4 separate regions of the Homo sapiens genome follow, and regions 2, 3 and 4 are each linked to region 1. Evidence: promoter capture Hi-C in 16 types of primary human blood cells and fetal thymus (Javierre and others, 2016). All regions are on one chromosome and are shown on one strand. The core of a region is centred on a gene start or on the middle of the fragment in contact, and the rest is flanking DNA. Distances in the headings are between cores, read along the strand shown. Region 1 holds the start of ATAD2B (ATPase family AAA domain containing 2B). Region 2 overlaps NCOA1 (nuclear receptor coactivator 1). Region 3 overlaps CENPO (centromere protein O). Region 4 holds the start of CENPO (centromere protein O).

Region 1 (5,017 bases), core at 1,554-4,053:
CAGAGCAAGACTCCATCTCAAATAAATAAATAAAGTTAACATTTGTTGATAGTAAATGGTATAGGTTATGGTAACTTGGCCTTCCCAATTTAGGACTACAAAAACAAATAAACACACACAAAAAAGGAGGAAAGCACACAAATCCTTTGTATATAATTTGCATACCACACACCTCTGCAGGACACTAGCCTTTTTATTTATTTATTTTTTTTTGAGATGGAGTTTTGCACTGTTGCCCAGACTGGAGTGCAGTGGTGCAATCTCAGCTCACTGCAACCTCCGCCTCCCGGGTTCAAGCGATTATCCTGCCTCAGCCTCCCAAATAGCTGGGATTATAGGTGTCTGCCACCATGCCTGGCTAATTTTTTGTATTTTTAGTAGAAATGGGGTTTCACCATGTTGGTCAGGCTGGTCTCGAACTCCTGACCTCAAGTGATCCGCCCGCCTCTGCCTCCCAAAGTGCTGAGATTACAGGCATTAGCCACTGCACCCTACCCTTTTTTTTTTTTTTTAAATATTTTTTTGAGACAGGGTGTTACTCTGTCACCCAGGCTAAAGTACAATGGCATGAACTTGGCTCACTGCAGCCTGGACATCCTGGGCTCAAGTGACTGATGGCGCCTCAGTCTCAGGAGTGGCTGGGACCACAGGCACCACACCCAGTAGTTTCAGCTACCAGGGAGGCTGGGGCAGGGGGATTGCTTGAGCCTGGGAGGTCAAGGCTACAGTGAACTGTGGTTGTGCCACTGCACTCCAGCCTGGGTGACAGAGTGAGACCCTGTCTCTCTCTCTTTCTTTTTGGCAGGGAGAGGATCTCACTATGTTGCCCAGGCTGGTTTCCAACTCCTGGTCTCAAGCCATCCTCCCGCCTCGGCCTCCAAGTGCTGAGAATACAGGTGTGAGCTACAGTGCCTGGCCCAAACCAGCCTCTTTCCACAGGAATTGATACTTGTTTATGCTGCTCAGTGATGTGATAGCTACTTGACCCAGGAAAATCCAGGTATGGTTCCATTATGAGGAATCCCACCCATTAAGACATCAACTCTAAGTGGCAGGTGAAGTGTCCAGGAGAGGATGTGGTATGCAAATTGTGTCAGAAGGATTTATCTATTCTGGAATCCATACTGGTTCCCAAACAAAAAAAATTGTCATTTCCAGTGTTGTACAGTTTTTTGGAATGATTGGGAGCTTAGATGGCCAGAATGCTCTAAGTTTGATGCCATTTGGTCATTTTCAGGACTTTTCCTGAGTTTTCAATTTTTCTTAGTTTAATAAACAGTTTAATAAACTCCTGCCCAATAAACAGTAGGCTATGTCTAATGTACTGTGAATTTTATTTTTTTTTTTTTGAGATGGAGTCTCATTCTGTCACCCAGGCTGGAGTGCAGTGGCACGATCTTGGCTTACTGCAATCTCTGCCTCCCGGGTTCAAGCGATTCTCCTGCCTCAGCCTCTCAAGTAGCTGGGATTACAGGCATGCACCACGACACCTGGCTAATTTTTTGTATTTTTAGTAGAGAGGGGGTTTCACCATGTTGGCCAGGTTGGTCTCGAACTCCTGACCTCAAGTGATCCGCCCGCCTTGGCCTCCCAAAGTGCTGGGATTACAGGCGTAAGCCCGGCCTGTACTGTGAATTTTTGAAATGAACCTAATTCCTACTTTACAGCAGAGCTTTTCTTTCTTTCTTTTTCTTTCTTTCTTTCCTTTCTTTCTTCCTTTCTCTCTCTCTTTCTTCTTTTTTTTTTTTCTGAGACAGGGTCTGGCTCTGTCATCCAGGCTGGAGTGCAGTGGCGTGATTTCGGCTCACTGCAACCTCCATCTTCTGGGTTCAAGTGGTTCTCATGCCTCAGCTTCCCGAGCAGCTGGGATTACAGGTGCCCACCACAACACCCATCGATTTTTTGTATTTTTAGTGGAGACAGGGTTTCACCATGTTGGTAAGGCTGATCTAGAACTCTTGACCTCAGGTGATCCACCCACCCCGGCCTCCCAAAGTACTGGGATTACAGGCTTGAGCCACCGCACCCGGCCTACAGCAGAGCTTTTCATATGAATTGTGTGGCTTAATTTTTTTTTCTTTGGAAGTTAAATTGCAAATGCTTTATCTGTGGGTTCAGCTTTTTGTATTCTTAATTCTTCAGCGGGCCGGGGGCAGGGGGCGGCGATAGAGGCGGCTCTTACAGGGTACTCATTCTTTGGCTCCGCCTTAGATCTGGCTAAGGGGATAGAAAACGACCCTGCCTCGCTTTGTTTAAAAACGCAGAGTTCTAGCATGGTGTTTCCCCCCCCCCTTCTCTTCTTAAGCTTACCAAGTTCCAGATACCGCCCAGATGAATTTTTTTTTTATCACAGCTGTCATTCTCATTTCTACAGGCATGAAAAGTGCGACTCAAGTTCAGTGTCTTGCCTCGGGTAGCTTGGGGATTCCCAGTCAGCTCCTCGCGCCTTCGTCGCCGCTCCCCTTCCACCCCGCGCCTTCGCCGGCCGTCCCCTGCTCCATCCAGGCCACGGGGGTGACGGTGGGGTCTGGGGCATTCAGGCCTGGCTGGGCATGAGGGCTTCAGGCCCAATTCCACGCCCGAACTCGTCCTGATTAGTCTGGCTTTTCTGGTCGCCCCAGCCCTGCGGTCGGGGAGAGCTGGAAACCACCGAGCTGACAGCCTAGAGCGTCGCTCCCCGGCCGCCGAGCGCTGACGCCGCGCCGGGGGCGGGGCAGCTGGAGGCGGCAGGGAGAGGAGCGAGCAGCCGGGAAGGGCTGGCCGGCTTCGCAGCGCCCCGCCGTGGCTGCGGCCGGAAGCGGTCTCGTTGGCCCTGCGGCGCTGGAGCCTTGACGCACGGAGCTCGAGAGCGAGAACGGGAGAGAAAGGGGTAGAAATGGCGGCTCCGCTCGGCTCCCGCTGAGGAGGGCGAAGCCGGCGGAGTGTCTGTGCTGCCGGTCTGCAGCACCGCCCCCGCTTCCCGCACGCCGCCTGCTCACGCCGACTTCCCTTCCTCTGCCCGGCTCTCTCTTGTGCTCGTCTGCGCTCCGCACGCTCCGGGCCGGCTCGTCTCTCATTGCCCGGCTCGGCTCCGCTGGCCCTGACTGACCGGCCGGCGGGCCGGCCTTGCTCGGCTCTCCCGGGCGCGGCGTGGACTCCGTCCCCCTGGCTGGACCATGGTGAACACCCGGAAGAGCTCTCTCCGCCTTCTCGGGTCCAAGTCTCCTGGTCCCGGGCCTGGGCCTGGGGCCGGAGCAGAGCCTGGGGCGACCGGAGGCAGCAGCCATTTCATCTCCTCTCGGACCCGCTCCTCCAAGACCCGCGCCGCCAGCTGCCCCGCCGCCAAAGCCGGGGGAAGCGGTGGCGCCGGCGTCACTCTGGATGAGGCCAGGGTAAGAGCGCGGCGTCCCGAGTCCGGAGGCTCGGAAGTGCCGGCCCTGCTGCCGGGGCTTTGTCTGGCCGGGTTGGGGGTAGGAAGCCTACAGTGGAGACCGCTCGGGCGGCTGGAGACAGGGTCTGCGGGCGCGGTGGAGGGTGGCACCCAGAGAAGGGCCGCGACGCTGGCCCCTTTGCTTTTCAAGCTGGCCCGGCTCTTTTGTGTGAAGAACAGCCCTTGAGTCCAGGGGAGAGGGCTTTGGGGGTCCCTTTCGGCGTCATTCGAACGATCTGCTGTCCGTGTCCTTGTCCTGCCCCAGAGGGGAATTCTAGCGGGGAAGCAAGAGCGAAGGGCCAGAGCCCCTGGGTGGAAGGGTTGGAGAAGTGAAAGTTTTCTGCGGTGTCAAACCCTTCTTGAAAGTGTGTCAGTTCCTGCCGCTGTCTAACTCCAGCTTACTCTCAGTTTGGGGGTGGTTCAAGTTGGTGAGGAAGTGAACAGAGAGCTCCAGTTGGCAGCCAGGCAGGGATGCTGAAAAAAGTTTGTAGCTGCTCTGACACCAACTTTAAAAACAAAATCAACGCTATCGCCTCTCCAGGCAGGAGAGATCAAACATGATATTATAGCTGGGGAACCAGCCAGCTAGCTCACCAAGGTGCTAGTAGGAACCAGAGCTTTCAGGTCACAGAAGGAGCACGTCGAAAGAAACAAGTGGAATGTTTCGGATAGTCAGCACCATCATGCCAAAACTGTGTGGTTTCTTGGGTGTCTACATTTTTGTTATGGGACTATATTACAAAAGGTGAATGAACACCATAGTCATGCAGTTGCAAAAATGACATTTAAAGACGCTGGTGATTGAATTAAAAAACTGATTGAAAGATCTTGAAATTTTATTACCTACATTATAAAGCTAAGCACAGATATTTATTGTTTTAAAGGAATTGACACGTTTGTTTTACTATGAGATTGTTTCTGAATTCAGAGAAGAGTGTATTGCTTCTGTCTAAAAGAGGTTGACTTGCTAAGTAATTTGGCTGGAAAAAGCTGTTCATTTAAAATGCTCCTTTAATTCCACACCATTTTGTGGTTCTTATTGGGGGAAAGCAATATTTTATGTTCTAGGGGTCTACAAGATCGCGGTTTGTGTGTGCTTTTCTTTGTGTCTTACACTGTTTTGACACTAACAGAATGGATCTAGGCAGAGACAGGAATATTTTACCATACTACTCTGAAATATTTTTATTATATCTTTGAAAATCGTTTTGGCTTTTCTTTGATAAAATTTTGGGCATTATAACGTCCTATTTAATAGACTATTTTGGGGGCTTACAGCTCTCTTAGGTTGAAATAAGGTTAAATCTGAAAGTTGTGCAAACTGTTGAGAATAAGTACTTTGAAGACGAGGCTTTCGGTGGAAACTATTCCAAACATGTTCAAGCTTCTTGACCTACTGAGGCTATCACATATTTTAAAATAAAACTCAATTTAAGAAAAGATCTTTTCTGTACATTTAAGGACAAAGAAAATATTTAGGGTGTAAGCATTTAATCGTATCATGCTATGTGAATGCCTAGTCTGTTAGAGCAGTGTCTAACTCATCTGAAGCAATTAGCTCATCTTCACTCATCAGTTTGTGGTCCCATTTTTGAATTCATGGATATC
Region 2 (5,667 bases), core at 1,738-4,237, 570 kb before region 1:
ATAAAAATGAGTGAATAAGTTCCCAATGTGGGTAAGCCTTACATATGGAATCATTTCAAAAACAAAAAATATGAAATTTGGGGTATAAAACCTGCCAAGAAAAGATCCACGTAAATTTGGAAAATTGACATTTCTCATTTTCATCCATATCTACATACTTACTACATACTGCTCCCCACCACCTCCCTCCATTAAAATCCACCAATGTTTTCTTACTACACCTAGACGATATGCTTCCCTCTCCCACTTCAGCTGATGCCACACTCCTTGCACTTTCCCCTGCATTACTCCGTCTTTTCATCTTTGCTATTTAATCTTCCTGAACATACTGTTCTCCTTGTCTCTATTCTTAAAGAAATCATCCCCTGCCCTCAATGCTTTTGTCTACCACCAAGTCCTCCATAAAACTTGCCCTGATTTTTCTCAAATGAAAATACAATAATCATTCCCTCTCCCTGAATGTTCAAAGCACTGTTTCAGGACCTGTCTCACAGCACTCATCACATTCAATTACTATTATAGGTATTTGTATGTTTGTCTTATCACCTCTCTCAGGTCATAATCTGCTTAAGAACAGGATCTATATTTTATCGGTTAATTTCCCAATAACCACTATCTTTTTACAGCACAGCACCTTGAACAAAGTACGTACTCATATAACTACGTCTTGACCGAATGATTGAGTAGCTACTTAGAAATTCAATTACAGACTACCTGTACCATTTAGAATGGAGAGGGAGATATTAGACATTGCAGAACAAATAACTTTTTGTTTCTTACAAACAAATTCACCAAAGTAAAGTCAATATTACACATACAGATGTTTTCAAAACTCAAGGACATTTCATCCTTCAACTATCTGGTCAAATATGATGTGATATGTTTATATACATACATACATTCACAATAGAATACCTACTGTTAAATAATCAAATCTATGCTTGATAATAAAAGTATGTAAATGTTTTAACTATATAGGCAAACTGGAATTTTAAGATAAAATCAACCATTCAAATTACAAGTGGAAACACAGAGAATGACCAAGCAATTTGTTCCAAAAAAATAAAAACAAAACCAAACCACACTAAGCTTTAGCTATTTAAATACCAACAAAACTTGAGAGGCAGAATTTTATGGCTAAGAATCCAAAACCAACCAAAGATAACCTTACCTGGATAGAAGCACCAAAGAATCAACATTACTGAAGTACAAAGGTGAGACCAGAAACAGCACAAGAATCTTTTTTTTTTTTTGAGATGGAGTCTCGCTCTGTCACCCAGGCTGGAGTGCAATGGCGCGATCTCGGCTCACTGCAACCTCCGCCTCCCTGGTTCAAGCAATTCTTCTGCCTCAGCCTCCTGAGTAGCTGGGACTACAGGCTTGCGCCACCACACCCGGCTATTTTTTGTATTTTTAGTAGAGACAGGGTGTCACCATATTGGCCAGGTCTCGAACTCCTGACCTCATGATCTGCCTGCCTTGGTCTCTGAAAGTGCTGGGATTACAGATGTGAGCCACCACGCCCAGCCCACAAGAATCTTAAAGTGACATTTTCATCAAGTAACTGGTATATATGGCTCCCGGGTCATCAGAAAGGAACAAGACTGCAGGAGTCTCCACAACACAGGTATTCAAGAGAAAGAAAGTCCAGAAAGAAAAAAAAAAAAGTATAATGTGGCCAAGTGTGACGAACATGCTTGAAGAGAAGCCAATTGAAAGGTATGAATATGATTTCCACTCAGTAGGCTTGAACTCAAATGTCATCCCTAACACCTATAAGCTGTGCAATCTTACGCCAGCCACTTAACTTCCCTGAGCCTTGTTTCCTCATTTATAAAATGTAATATGTAGAGCTAGCACAGTACCTGGCTCAGAGACAACACTCAATAAATATTTGCTGACTATGAATGAGGGCCTTACAAGAAAAGCAGACGTTTTTCTACAGGTACTTTTGTAGTTTTTGAGAAAACGGTCTTAATTAATTCCTAATTAATACCTTTTTACAATATTTGAGAGTCATATTTTGGTCAAAAAATAAAAATGCTCCTTTCCTCCTAGCTTACACATTACTCAAAAGCTTACAGGAATTCTTATTATTTAAAATATCTTTGTAATATTGTAACTTTAAATACAAAAAGTAACTCTCATAAAGAAACCCTATTCCCAACTACATCTGCATGGACTTAGTCTGCTCAGCTGTAATATTAAGAAGGCTGTCCTAAATGATCATTTAAGGCTCTTTAACTCTAAATGTTGTAGTTCCTGGCATCTCAAGCGTTTTCCAATCTGTTTAGGAAAACCAATCAACACACACTAAAAAGAGAATCTCTCTCAAAAGAAAGAGAGAGAAAGAGAAGTTTATTATACAGAACAGAGTACCTAATGCTAAGGGAGTGATAAAAATCAAGCTTTCTTGAAAACATACCAGCTTTGATGCTGTTTTTGAAGGTCACGAGAACATAAAGGAAATCCAATTTAAATGAAGAAAATGGAACATGTAAAAGCAAAGACGCAAGATATCTATGATTATCATAATACTTTCTTCATTGCGTAGCACTTTACAGTTTGCGAAGTATTTCTGCATATGCCATCTACAGCAAATTTTCTGGAATGGGAAATGAAAGAATCAGTTTAAATGATTTACATTTGATAAATTTGCCCACAGAAAATCTCCTCTGAAAACAATAACATAAAAAAATTTTTTTAGAAGGGAATTTCTTCAGCATTATGTGTAGGACAAATTAGAGAGGTAAATGCATGCAAGCAAACAGCTATAAACCTACAAATCACAGAATTTTAAAACAAGAAGAAATGTGAAATTAGACCAACATGCTCATTTAATGATAAAGAAACTCAGGCCCACAGAGTCAATGTGACTCCCATTACTCCATGTGCAAATGACAGGAGGACCAGATTGCAGAACCAGAAATAAAGGAAAAAATTTGAGAAATTACAAAGAAAAGAATGCGAGAATTTGGTGATGAATTCGCTAATGAAATACCTGTTAGTCATTAATGTCTATGTGCCAATCATATGCTAAACACATTTAATAATTTTAAAGATTACAATATGAGGACAAGTACGTTACTCCAATTTTAAATATAAAAACTGAAGTTTAGTGTGGTTAAACAGCTCAAGGCTACATCAACCTAAGTATCTGGAAGAGCTAGGACACCTCTGTCTGTCTGGTCAGAGTTTCTTTTCTAAAAGATGCTTTAAAATTGCCCCACAATTATAAGCTGAAAGGGCAAAAATGAAGCATCACTCTGGAAAAACTGGATAATCCAGTACAATTAGAATTCTGGTCCTGATAATGGGTGCGTTTTGCTTCCGTGCTTGCACCTATTTTTATGAGTCTGGCCTGTCTGTGCCTAATGGTCAGGTCAGGGCTACTCAGTAAAACCAAACATCCCTGCCCTCCACACACTAAAACATACTCTCGGGGAGTGGTAAGAACAAAATATATCCAAGATGAGGGTGAGTCTTCCATAACTCCTCGAGTGACTAGAGCTTCTATTTTGGCATAAGCTACTTATCTTTTAAATATGATAACCATACTAAGCTTTTCTAAAAGCCTATCACTCCAAGGAGCCTCAAAAATTCTGTGTTGCAGATGGGGTTATGGGGGAAGAAGCATGGATACAACTCACTTTACTTAAACTTATGGAATTGGACTTATATGTTGGTATCAGCGTTTTATAATAATTTCCCTTATTCAGCCATGTATCCTGCAGAAATATATAATAATCATTTCTATACATTAATCCAAATACTATAGCCCACAAACCATTTTCCAGAACTAAGCTATTAAAAAAAAAAAACAAAAAAAAAACACCTTCATCTCCTTATGAAATGAAGCAACCAACATTGGTACCTAGTTGCCACTAGGCCATTTTATGACCTCTGACACCAAATGTTGAAAGGCACAAGGTCTAACTAAAATATAAAGAGAAAAGGAAAGGTTTTAAATGACTAGACCTCATCTTCAATGTTAAGAATAGAACATGAGGCCTATCCTTAGTTGCCAATCACCAACGGCTAAACTACTGCTAATCTGGGAAAGAAGCAATTTTAAAAAGTCCTTTCCTACAGTCTAGTCTTCCCAAATGGGTAGGAAAGTTAATCTAAGATAGGGAGAAATTTATACGGTTCTGCAGCCCAGATCAGATACAGTGTTCTGACATCCACCTCCTGAAACACATGGATTTCACCCGAGCCCACACCGACCACAGCATCCAATATTTGCAAGTAATGCAAAATGGAACCCTCCAAAACATTTTTGGACCTCTGCCAGGAAAGCAGCTGATGGTCCTCTGAGAATTTCTGTTATAATCATATTTAAAAGGCAAAAACCAATGCCAAAACAATCATGAGCGTCCCGGGGATCTCCTATGCTCCATGACTTAGATTTTACTCCGTGTTGTGCGTTGTATTGACCTCCCACACCTGCCCTATAATGAAAACTATGTTAAGCCACATGGCTTAAGGCCAGCCAACTCCATAAGATATGCAACATAACATTCAAACAATGTGGAGTCCTTGGGAGACGCAGCAAAAAAGACAAACTAAAGTACGGAACAGAGGTAGTATCTAAGAGGAGGTATATGAAATTGATGACAACCAAGCAGGGAGAACTAAAACATCCTTGAAAAACAATTATAAATCACAGTCTAGTATACAGATTCCCTATACAGAATTGGGGAAAAGAATTTCAAGAAAATGCCCAATACCCTCTCTCCACCACTCCACCTTTCAGCACCTCTATACCACCCTCATCACTTACTCAACATTTAGTCCTAGTGAAGACCGCTCACTGGATTAGCAGGATCAAGAAGACATGCACAGAACATTCCATTCTGAGAACAACATCTTTAAATTATTTAGGCTTGTTTACCACCCTTCCCTATAGAGTAAAAGCATGAAATGTTGCCAGCACTTTCACAATATACACCAGTTAGCACCATAGCAACCCAATCTTCTGCCCACCAAAAGATTAACACATAAGCAGAAAACAGGAAATTCAACAAAAATTAAAGTTTGACCTTAGACTCCCTCAACAGTTAAATGTCTTAAGTAGTAGCAGTGTCTTTACATCACACCCGCTTCATGCTACCCTTACAGCTTCCTGGCATAAGCAAGTTCTTGGGATTATACAAACTGCTGCTTCTGTTTGCAGCCCAGATTTCTAGAAATGAAACCCTGGAATTGAGGGAGAAACAAAAACAAATGTTCGCAGAAAGAGGCAGGAAGAAGCATTGTCTATATAATCCTAGTTTAAGTGAAACAATCACCATTAGCTCCATCAAGCACTTTTTTTTTTTTTCCAATAAAACCACTGCAGATCTAAAATACTCTCTTGGTTTAAACCACACAAAAAGCAATTTAATAGGCACAATCCTACAGGTTTTCTGAGAGAAATAAGGAAGAGATCAAGTGTAAGCTACGTAAAATTCACGTTTTGCACCTTATAAAGCAAACTTCAATGTTGTTAAATAACCAGTAGAAAATATCTACAAAAATCAAACTAAACACCTGTTCTTATAAGCAGCAGTCCTCTATTTTCTCTCTAAACCATATATTCCCAACTCAGACCCTCTCTGTGACCCACTGTTCCCAAAGCATAGAGTCTGAAGAAGAAATATAAAACATTTCGGACATTCGTTCACA
Region 3 (5,315 bases), core at 2,020-4,519, 890 kb before region 1:
ATCATCCTGCTTTACCTCTACAACCATCCCACGGCCCTATTATATGGATGAGGTTAAAGAAACACGTCCAAGGCGGGTCATCCCCCTCCAGTGCTTATCACCTAGTTGAGGGATCCAAACAAGGACAACCTGACAAAACCTAAGGACCAGGACCAGGCCCAGCCAAGGTGAAGGGGTCCGCCTCGTGGTCAGACTCACAGGTCCGTCTCCTCTGCTCAATTGCCCAGTCTTTGCCTAGACCTGCTACGTGAACTTTGTCACAGTGGCAAGTCAGAGCTAGCGTGGCTGCGACTCCTTTGTGGGAGGAAAAGTAAGGCCTTGAACATCTAGGTGTAGGGAATCCACCCCCAGAACACTGCCAGGGAAGGCAGCAGAGCAGGCTGCTGCAGTGAGCGGCCCCTGACACTTTCTCCACGGTCCCCTGGCACAGGAAGACAAGTCCGAGAGAGAGCGCTGGCAGCACCTGGCTGACCTGGCCGACTTCGCGCTGGCCATGAAGGATACGCTCACCAACATCAACAACCAGTCCTTCAATAACTTCATGCTGCGCATAGGTGAGCACCCCCAGCTGGCCTGCCCCGCAGCAGGCTCCCTTCCCATGCAGGGGCCTGGCCCACCACCAGGAGAGACATGAGGCTCAGGACAACTGAGGCAATTCGGGTGGGGAGGTTCACGCACTCACAGGGCAAGGAGACCTGAAAGACCTTTAGTCCAGACGACTCTAGATGACTAAACCAAAAACCCAGCTGATGTGATGATCCGACTATACTGTGCCTACTGTTACAATAGAAGCTTGGCCTGCCTGGCTGAGAAGTGAGTTTGTGATCCATTTCCAGAGGGGTTGCTGTGCCTGCTGAGGACATGGCTTCCCAGACAGGCCTGCTCTTTGAAAGGAGTTAAGATCACCTGCTGCTTCTACTGAGGGGGTATCATTCCTGAGTGAGGTCCCAGGAGACTTGAAATACCAGCTGTGTTAGAAGCTGGCCACTACCATGCCGAGTAAATCTGCATATGGGGGGGGGGTGGCGGCTGACACCTAACAAGCACACGGATAAACAGGAGATGTGATTTCCACCCTCCAATAGCATACAGCCAAGTTGAATGAGGACAATGATGTGTTACATTAGGAGCTTTGTGGTACAGGTCTGGAGAGGAGATGGCTTCTGAGGCCCATAACAAGGTGTGGCCTGTGGCTGTGCTGAACTTTATGCCTCTACCCTAGGCATGAACAAAGGCGGGGTTCTGGCTGGGGTCATCGGAGCCCGGAAACCACACTACGACATCTGGGGCAATACAGTCAATGTAGCCAGCAGGATGGAGTCCACGGGGGTCATGGGCAACATTCAGGTATGTCCAGTGGCACAGCTGGCACGTGCTCAGACTCGGCATGAGAACAAAACCGGAACAGTGCTTTCCCACGTGCCCCTGCCTCCCACCCTGGCCCTGAACAGTAAGTCCAGAGGCAGAGACGTGGGGCAAGTGGAAAAGAATCTCTGCAATAGCTAGCCTCAGCACAGGAAGAAACACTTCCACCCATCCACAAAATCTGGGCTGAAGTTCTAGATGCATATGGCCTACCTTTGGGTATGAACCTTCTAATACCTTGTGATCTGTCTCAGTGGCGTCTGGCAGAAAAGCTCCACGAAAGGGGCAAAGGGACAGAAGAGCAGGCAGTGGCAGTTTCCAGGTAACAGTGCTGCCACCCAGGTGACCATGGCCATCCTAGGAGAGAAGTCTCTGGATGAGAGGAGGCCCCCAGCCAGTCACTCCAGGGTTCTCCTTCCCACCCGCTGCTCGCCACGGGTGGAAGGGCTTGGCCCTGGGAGGTTTGGGGAGTGTCCCGTACTGCTTGGGACCCATGGATCAGTGCTCGGCTCCAACCACCCAAAGCCCCCACCCGCCCTCAGTCTAGGCTCCCCCCGTAACGCCACGTTCTTGCTCCCCCTCCCTCTCCAGGTGGTAGAAGAAACCCAAGTCATCCTCCGAGAGTACGGCTTCCGCTTTGTGAGGCGAGGCCCCATCTTTGTGAAGGGGAAGGGGGAGCTGCTGACCTTCTTCTTGAAGGGGCGGGATAAGCTAGCCACCTTCCCCAATGGCCCCTCTGTCACACTGCCCCACCAGGTGGTGGACAACTCCTGAATGGCCTCGAGCCTGCAACAGTCCAAACCGGAAGGGAGAATTTATTTTTTGAAACTGAAGGAAGTCCCGACCTTCCTGGATTGAAGTGCACACTCATGGACTTTAGGTTTAGAAACCTCCTCAGCCTTCATTTGTTCGTGGATGTGTGAGCTCTGAGGGTGGCCCTGCTATTCCTGTGTGTGCCTGTAGTGTCCCCAGCATAGGGGTCTTAGGCATAGGGCTGAACAGTCCTTCCAGAGCCCTCGTTCCAATCCCTGCCGTCCTTGCCCCTGAGGGGCCCTGACCACTGTGAGCAGGAGGGTGGCAGAGCTGGGACAAAGCTGCCTTTGCCGCTGGGCTTTCCGGGACTGTGGAGGGAGCACAGGCGGGGAAGCTCCACTTCAGACAGGGCTTGGTGGGGCAGGACATGGCTCCCATTTTGAAGGGAGGTCTCCATGTGGTCCGAGTGAGGTGAGACGGCCCTCGTCCTGGTGTTCCTGATCATCTTGAAAGGTTCTTCTGGAACTCCTGTCCCCTTAGTCATGAGAACAGAAAGTGCAATATTTCCTTTCACCTGGCAGGGGAGGGGGGATTTATTTCTGAAAGAAAAATATATAAACAGATCTTCTACATTTATATTTTTAATCTTCTGTTAAATACACTTTCCGATATTGCCTTGCCTTTTGAGCTCTTGCTACAGTCGCCTTTGCTACTGCTTTAAGAGAATTTACAGGTATTGATAAAGAACAAGACTGTTTTATTAAAAGCTTTATTCAACTTGAAAGTGATTGTGGAAATTCTGTTAATATCACTTATCTGAGGAGTGCTGGTACTTTGCTGACTCATGCCACTGGTCCCCACCACAGGCCTGGAAGGCAAGAGCTTGAAGGTCTCATCATAGCTCACTGTACCCCGGAACGCCTGCTGCCTGGCCCTGTCTCTTTTATTCTTAAACTTTCTTCTAAAGGGTACTCCAAGCTGGCTTTAATCCCCTGCACTGTTCCTGGAGCTCTCCCACACGGAGGTTACTTCGTGGCCATTGCAGGGTTAAGTCTGAACGTGGCCTTGGGCCAGTCATGACTCCTATCTGTGCCTGGGCAAGGGAGGGCTACAGGAGAACCTGGTCAGCCAGACACAGGTTTTCATATCTGTGAGTGACCCACACGCCAAGGAACCAGAGGTGCCAGCAGGTCAGAGGCCCGTGGTTACGGCAAATCAGGACACTAACCGGAGAGCCTGCAGGAGAGGGAAGACCCGGGGGGCGCCTGAGTCCCCCTGAGTTAATGGGCAGATTTCTAACTAACTAACTGTGCTTTTTCAGAGGGGACTTCCTAGTACATTCACAGCTCTACTAAACTTTTAGGAAACAAAATATGAGACACACTGAACTCTGATTATTTTATCCTACTGCTTTCTCACACCATATTTATAAAGCAGTGGCCTAGAATACACTGCGCCTAACCAAACAAACACTGAAGAACTTCCTTTTCAAAAGTTTCAAACAGGAAAATGAGGAAAAATTACTTAAAGCTTTCATAAAAGCTAAAAATACTTTCCTTTTAAAAAAAAAAAAATATTGGGTCTTCCTTATTATCTTCATTAGTGAATGTGGGTTATTTTTCCATTTATTTAGATCAGTGTTTCTCAACAGAATCAAGCTATTGCAGTTTGAGTGGAGTGCTACATTTCTGTGAGAGCCCTTTCTGAAAATTTTAGGATTTTTGGCATCTCTATTCCTGGCATTAAATTAGTAGCAGTTACTGTGACAACTTAATTGCCTGGTCTTTCCCAGAGTTAATGCCCTCAATAATTTGATATTTTTCCATAAGTACTTCTTGAGTGATACACCTTTTTCAAAAAATGGCTTTTATTGCCCCACAAATGATTTTCAACTAAAATGTATGATCAACTAATACCTTTAAAAAACATCTTGAGCATTTTAAGAAGGGACCAGGTGATCATGGGAATTGTTCAAAAATGCCAGTGTCTATACTCAAACCTGCTCTTCCATCCAGATGAACAGGTAGGTGTCTGTTTTCATCAGAAGGGTGATGTACCCTTCATCAGACAGTACTACCCACCTGGTACTGTCTTCAGTACTGGTTACTTACCTCTGATGTGCTCCCAGTGCAGTGAAAACAATCTATTAGGAGACCAGACTCATATCCAACTTTTCTCCTTTTCTTGTAAATGAGGCAAACACTTGATGCAAGGGCTTCGTACAGAACAGAGTTTCATGAGATGCTCGTTGCTCCTCCCATGAAGTGGATAATACTTCCACTCCTAAAAAGAAAGATTCCATCAATCTCATTCAGTGCAGCTGGGGGAATCGGAGCCTGGATCACTGATATTCAATCTCATTCAGTGCAGCTGGGGGAATCGGAGCCTGGATCACTGACATTCAATCTCACTCAGTGCAGCTGGGGGAATCGGAACCTGGATCACTGATATTCTGGACCCACTGGACCCATACAGCTTTTTTTTTTGGTCTGGACTAAGGCTGCCCCTTACTGGACCAATGCAATCTAGAGACTGGGGACTGGAATCTAACTGCGCAGAGAAATCAAAGACCGATGGTGTGAAATCTGGGGCAGCTTCAAAATTTCTGCCTCCTAAAAACATTTCACCCAATTTTTCATTATTGCCCATGTCACATTTAACTGAAACAGGTTCACCAAAAAATCTCTCTCTCAGCCAGTCTGGAAGGATTTCCATTTAGAGACTGCTCCGTAGGGAGGAGTAAGTGTGTGCTGACGTGTCATGTCCATTTGTCTTCACAGTGAAATGAGTCTTCTGGCTCCATCCACCATAACTGACCCATGACTCAGCCTTATCATTAGGTGTCTTTCCTGAAGCAGGGCCCCCAGTGAAAACAAATCATAGGCTGCGAGAACACTGCTGAGGTGGGTGGGCAAAGGAGAAGGGAAAATGGGGACAATCATGTTTACCATTTACAAAGAGGAAGGAAAAGACTGGTAGAAACAAGAATGTTCTATCTTACCGGTCTGAGTAATGTACAGTATATAAACAGAGAAAGTGTCTCAAGAGGTCTACTTCATGGATTCTACCTATTTTCCCTGTTTCACTCAAATAAACTGGGATATGAGAATTTCTGCACTGAGGCACCCTTCTTACCTTGACATGTCACGGTGACGTCAGTGGGAAGAGTTGCTGTGAGGTCCTTATACAGCAATCTA
Region 4 (5,521 bases), core at 88-2,587, 870 kb before region 1:
ACCACCTTCACGAAACCCTCTTTTCCTCTGAATCTTAGCATAGCGGCCTGTTGGTATGCCTTGTTCAACAGATGTTTATTAAGCATCTATTTTGTGCCAAGTACTATTTCAGGCACTGGGAACATAGTGATGAACAACAGACAACCTGTTTTTGTGACACTTACATTTTACCTCTCTGACCCCACTTTCTGCTTTGAAGGCTCCTACTCTCCTCCTTGACCATTAAATGCTGAAATTTTCCAGAGCTCAGTCCTAAGACCTCTTCTTTCCAGAAGAAATCTCATCAGTACCCACAGCCTTAATGGCCATACATGTCGATGCCACACAAATATGTATCTCTAGCTTATACCTCTCTCCTGCTTCTTGAGAAAGCAGAATATCCACCTGCCTTCTCAGTGTATCTACTTGGAAGACTTACAGGAACCTGACAATCAACATGTCCAAGACTGAATTCATCATCTCCCCTTCTAAACCCCTCCATGACTGGAACCATTATCCATCTATAGCTGTGTAAACCAGTACTTTCTTCCTCACACCTTCTCCCTGACCCAGTCCCAATCCATTACCAGATCCTATTGAATATACATTCCTAGTATCTCTAAAATATTTCCATTTTCCCCATCTGCAATGCCACCATTGTAGTTCAAGCTACTACCATTTCTGGCCTATTACAAGTTTCCTAGGTGGCCCATACACTGAAGCCATATTTCAAAATCTAAACTGGATCGTGTCATCCAGCTGGCTAAAGCCTTTCGATGACTTCACACTGCCTACGAGGCCTACTGGCCTCTGGATCTCTCTTACCCTCATCAGTATCATGCTGCTCCTTCTCTAGGCATTTCCACACAGGCCTCCTCTCAGGCTCTCAAACCCGCCCAGCGTCTTTACTGACCTGATCCCCCCACCCCCAACACACACACCAAAGGCTCTTCCACAGCCGCCCCTTATCCACCTTCACCTGCAGCTACTCTAGCTCGTTAGCACTCAATGCAAGCAGCATTTCCTCAGGGAAACCTTTGTAGCACCTTCAGAACAAGGTCAGGTGCCAGCTCATAAGCTCTCAAAGATCCTTCTGAGACAATACTATAGTTTTTTTGTTTTTGTTTTTTAAATAAAGAGATGGGGTCTCACTATGTTTCCCAGGCTGGTCTCAAACTCCTAAGCTCAAGCGATCCTCCCACCTCGGCTTCCCAAAGTGCTAGGATTACAGGCGTGAGCCACCGCACCCGGCCACTATAGTTTTAATTGTATATTCATTAGTGTGATTATTTGATTTGCTTATCTTTTCCACTGAACCTTAAAGTTCCAAAATCAGGGACCGTGTGCATTTGTGTTCACCCATGGATCCCTTAACCCTAGCACAAAGTGTTTACACATGGTAAACACTCCGGAAATGGTTATTTTTTTCTGAGACGAAATCTCACTCTGTTGCCCAAGCTGGAGTGCAGTGGCGCGATCTCAGCTCACTGCAACCTCTACCTCCCAGGTTCAAGCAATTCTCCTGCTTCAGCCTCCCAATTAGCTGGGACTACAGGCATGCACCACGATGCCCGGCTAATTTTTGTATTTTTAGTAGAGATGGGGTTTCACTATGTTAGCCAGACTGGTCTTGAACTCCTGACCTTGTGATCCACCCGCTTTGGCCTCCCAAAGTGCTGGGATTACAGGTGTGAGCCACCGCGCCCGGCCAACACTCCGGAAATGTTTACCGAAACACGGACAACCAGGCATGACACTCTTGGAGATTACATTCACTTGGCTCATGTCCACAGAAAAACCCACATTACCGCAATAATAATCGTGAGAAACCAAAATTCTAATTAAATAAATTAGTCCTAATAATTAGCACGTGATTAACTGCTTTATTCACCAATCTCTATTTATCCAACAACTATGCATTGAGAATTTACTATGGACCAAGGACCGTGCTGGAAGTTATTCATACTGTGGTGGCAAAACGAAGTCCCTGTCCTCACGGAGCTTACAAAAATTAATGTCCAACCAGGAGGTGATCTGAAAAGCACGCACACATAGAATAATTTAGGGTGGTAGAGGAGACGCCTCACCAAATTCTACTTTATGGAAATTCTATATTACTAAAACAGTAGATATCAATATTCCCAAAGTTTCTGAGATAAGTAGGTGTTCAAAACAGTATCATGCTGCTCCTTCTCTAGGCACTTCCACACAGCCCTCTTCTCAGGCTCTCAAACCTGCCCAGCTTCTTTACCGACCTGATTCCCTCTACACCAAGGGGGTAGCGTTGTTGTTTAGCGTTGCTACTACAGAAAAGAGGGAGTGTATCTGCTGGGCCTGCTTTACCTTGGAAGTTATGATTGCATCTCATCCTAGCCAGTCAGCTTTGTCCCAAAAAAAGTCAAAATCCCTGCCTATTTGAATAAATCATCTGGTTGCAACTACAACTCCATGTCCTTCCTTCTCAAATGAGTGGGGAGAATTCAAATAATAAGCAAAAAACTGAAATCAAACAAGCAGAGGGATAAAACCAGTATGGGTAACAGCTAAGTGTTTAAATATTGTTTTGGGTAGAGAATAAGGAGACTGGTCTAAGTCTCTTGATAATCCAAAACTTCCACCTCATCACTTACTTTAACAGAAATGAAATAAGGCCTGGACTAGAGAACAGGTTACTCCTGAGTGTAGCATGTTTCCACTACATAAAGTCACCAAACTTATTTTTAGTCTTAAAGTAACAATAAATCTTACCCCATATACTTTTATTATCTAAAGTCTCAGCTTAAGTCATCTTAGGCTGAATATAGTTACTTCTCTGTTATCAATGATAATGATGACCCAGAGAAAAATAGGATAACCAAATTCACTGACGCGCTCAGAAATTCTTTTTAAAACTGTAATTTAAGTTAGGTTTTATGGCAAGCTTTCCCAAAGTACTAACGTAGAACCCTTTGGATTTAGGCATCAGGCTTGAGTAAGTATTTCAAAGTTCTAAAAAGTATTAGTAGCAAAGAACATAAAGTCACACAAAACCAGAACTGTCCACAAATATTACTAGGCACTAAAGAAGAAAGCAACTTACTCCTGGACAGAAATTCAAACGCAAATCTCAGTTTCCAAAGGATTGACTAAGGACTAAGTAAAAGTAATAGTTTCGTAATTCTAAGCAACTCTAACAAGCATTCTTTAAACACCTTCTACATTTTAAGACACAAAGTATGTAAAGAATTAAGCCTTTCATTGAATATTTCCTATATATTAGACATGTGCTAAATGCTTCACTTGAAAAGTCTGAGTTCAATACTTTTCCACCACAAAAGAAATACTTTTTCCACAACCACAACTACAGTGCTATTTTCACCTCCATTTTCCAGATGAAGAAACAGAGGCAGAGAATAAAGTGACTTGCCTAAGGTCACAATATTTATCATGGCAGAGCCAACACTCAAAACCAGTTCTAGCCAACACTAAAGTCACTGCCCTACACTGGCCCTCCCTCAAGAGTAATGCATACATGGCCCAAAAAATCCGGGGAGAGGAAAGGGACCTCCCTGGCTAGAACCGCAGTTCAGAATATAAACACTGAGCATATGATGGATGCAACTTATCCGTTTCAAAAGGGGTGGGAGCCTAGAAACGAAGCCATTTTTCCTCCTCGAATAATCTTGGCTGCCTGTCCCTTTGTCTTCAATGTTAGTTCCTTTCACTATTCTGCTCCCAAACAGGCCAGGTCCCACGTCAGTTCCAGGAGGAAAGGGCTCTCTCAGCCTGCGGGTCATCTTTGGGCAGCAGCAGGAAGGAGGCGGCGACCCTCTGAATACCTCCTTTGGACTCGCCATCTGGACGTAAAGGGTTCGCCTGCTCCATCTCAGATTCCCAAGGGCCTTCCCATGAAGTTGTCTAGGCAACCGGTGATAGGGACTCCAATGTCCTTGCTAATAAAAGAAAAATGGCAACAGTCACATCACATCTAGTCCCATTCAAACCCAGACGGCAGGGCACACACCACTCAGGCACAACCCCTGGGCCGCGGATGACACAAATGTCACGGCTAGGATCCCCTTTCCTGAGCCGCCCGCCCTCTCCCATCGTCCGAGCCAGCAGAGTCCATGCCCACCCCCGCGCCCATCCCGCGGCCCCGGCGCGCTCCCGAGGCCACGGCTACTCTGGTCCAGCGGGCTTCCCGGCCACGGAAGGAGTTTTAAGAAGGCCGTTCAGCCCGCCACCCTGGCCACGGTCCGGTCCGACAATGGGTCTTTCCCCTACCTTCTCCCTTCTAGCTCACCCAGGCCAGAAGCGAGAATTCCCGCCATCCACGTCTTCAAAACCAAACCAACCGGTCCCGGCGTGCTTTGCGATCCTGCCGTACAAAAGCATGGCGGCGCTCAGGGCCCCGCCCTGATCCCAAGATGCACCGGGGAGTAGGTCCGGCCTTTCGGGTGGTCAGGAAGATGGCGGCCTCTGGGGCGGAGCCGCAGGTCCTGGTACAATACTTGGTGTTACGAAAGGATCTATCACAAGCTCCGTTCTCCTGGCCGGCGGGCGCACTGGTAGCGCAGGCTTGTCACGCGGCCACCGCGGCCTTGCACACTCACCGCGACCACCCGCACACAGCCGCTTACCTCCAAGAGCTGGGGCGCATGCGCAAAGTGGTCCTCGAGGTGAGGCACTCGGGCGGAGGGGGAGGTGCTGAGACATCGAGGGCGGAAGTGGGTGTGGTCTTCGGTCCGAAGGCCTGGCTGCGGGGAGTGGGTGCGGCGGGAGTTGGGGTGATCGTTAACATTTAGACTGGAGCTGTTTCCCTGGAGGTGCGCCCTTGGGAAGGGCCTGACTGTGTGAAGAGTGGACAGCAGTCCTCCGCCCCCTGCTGGGCTCGCGGTAAAGTGGTGGCTCCTGTGTCCCCGCTGTTCCGCCTGTGCACTGGCCGACTTTTTAAAGCCATGCCCCAAAGTGCTGTCCTCCTGCAAAACCGAGCCCGAAGGGACAGTGCAAAGTGAAGTCAAACTGAGTATTTACCTGGGTAGGACGCCAAATTATTTGAAAATAAATACTAAAAACGTTAGTATAAATTGAACCTAGCTTCAGCTAGACCAGGCACCAGGTGTGTAAATCGGTACACCTTTTAAAATAGCAGTCAGGTTCTGTTTGCAGATGACCAAACAAATCTCACCCTTACCCTTTGACTCTCTATCCTGCTGCTAGAGATGTAGCCTAAGAAAATAATCAGATGCACCCAAAGAGCTTTGCACAAGGATATTCATGGGAGCCCTTATGGTTTTGAAGCATATTTAGTGGTCGGGAAGAGTGCTCATGATGCGAAGCTAACTGAACTATATATACAGAATGATCCAGACTTTGAAAGGAAAAACTAAAGAAATACATCTACATATTAAGTAGTGCATGGTGAGATTTTGGTTATTTCCTAATGCTTAATCTGTATTTTTAAAATTTTCTACCTTAAGCACATATTTTATAATAAGGAAAAACGGCTTTAATAATAAACGGCTTTTTATAATAAGGAAAAACGGCTTTAAGCCAGAACTCA

The links. The method cuts DNA at HindIII sites, captures the fragments that hold promoters and counts their contacts. A CHiCAGO score of 5 or more calls a contact.
Region 2: a fragment that was not itself captured here is called in contact with the fragment with the promoter of ATAD2B in region 1 in 2 of 17 cell types (monocytes and total CD8 T cells); the score reaches 5.5 in monocytes.
Region 3: a contact is called between a fragment that was not itself captured here and the fragment with the promoter of ATAD2B in region 1, in 1 of 17 cell types (total CD8 T cells). The highest score is 5.1, in total CD8 T cells.
Region 4: a contact is called between a fragment that was not itself captured here and the fragment with the promoter of ATAD2B in region 1, in 8 of 17 cell types (total B cells, naive CD4 T cells, erythroblasts and 5 more). The highest score is 7.6, in total B cells.

What each region holds. Positions count from the first base shown.
Region 1 is chr2:23,924,909-23,929,925 of GRCh38, reverse strand. It overlaps ATAD2B (ATPase family AAA domain containing 2B), which reads left to right and starts at 2,803. Exons shown (of 28, transcript NM_017552.4): 1 at 2,803-3,371. The coding sequence starts at 3,156. It also overlaps a transcript of UBXN2A not described here. RefSeq lists enhancers at 2,277-2,366, 1,953-2,869, 3,627-3,676, 2,870-3,788, 3,887-4,136 and silencers at 2,537-2,866, 3,067-3,146. The HindIII fragment of the contact is 2,488 bases long and covers 2,308-4,795 here.
Region 2 is chr2:24,493,258-24,498,924 of GRCh38, reverse strand. The region is part of intron 1 of NCOA1 (nuclear receptor coactivator 1); the gene reads right to left. Among named protein-coding and RNA genes, the nearest start is that of NCOA1, 4.8 kb to the right of the region's middle. The HindIII fragment of the contact is 1,154 bases long and covers 2,411-3,564 here.
Region 3 is chr2:24,816,756-24,822,070 of GRCh38, reverse strand. It overlaps CENPO (centromere protein O), which reads right to left. Exons shown (of 8, transcript NM_001322101.2): 6 at 5,254-5,315; 7 at 4,230-4,401; 8 at 1-2,717. The coding sequence ends at 4,265. ADCY3 (adenylate cyclase 3) reads left to right here. Exons shown (of 22, transcript NM_004036.5): 20 at 431-554; 21 at 1,223-1,347; 22 at 1,957-2,902. The coding sequence ends at 2,139. Among named protein-coding and RNA genes, the nearest start is that of CENPO, 26 kb to the right of the region's middle. RefSeq lists an enhancer at 1-105. The HindIII fragment of the contact is 763 bases long and covers 2,888-3,650 here.
Region 4 is chr2:24,792,242-24,797,762 of GRCh38, reverse strand. It overlaps CENPO (centromere protein O), which reads right to left and starts at 4,338. Exons shown (of 8, transcript NM_001322101.2): 1 at 4,262-4,338; 2 at 3,798-3,911. The coding sequence starts at 3,843. PTRHD1 (peptidyl-tRNA hydrolase domain containing 1) reads left to right here and starts at 4,372. Exons shown (of 2, transcript NM_001013663.2): 1 at 4,372-4,637. The coding sequence starts at 4,386. It overlaps LOC105369164 (a long non-coding RNA gene), which reads left to right and starts at 4,688. Exons shown (of 3, transcript XR_939843.4): 1 at 4,688-4,996; 2 at 5,179-5,379. RefSeq lists an enhancer at 4,282-4,711. The HindIII fragment of the contact is 3,129 bases long and covers 1-2,901 here.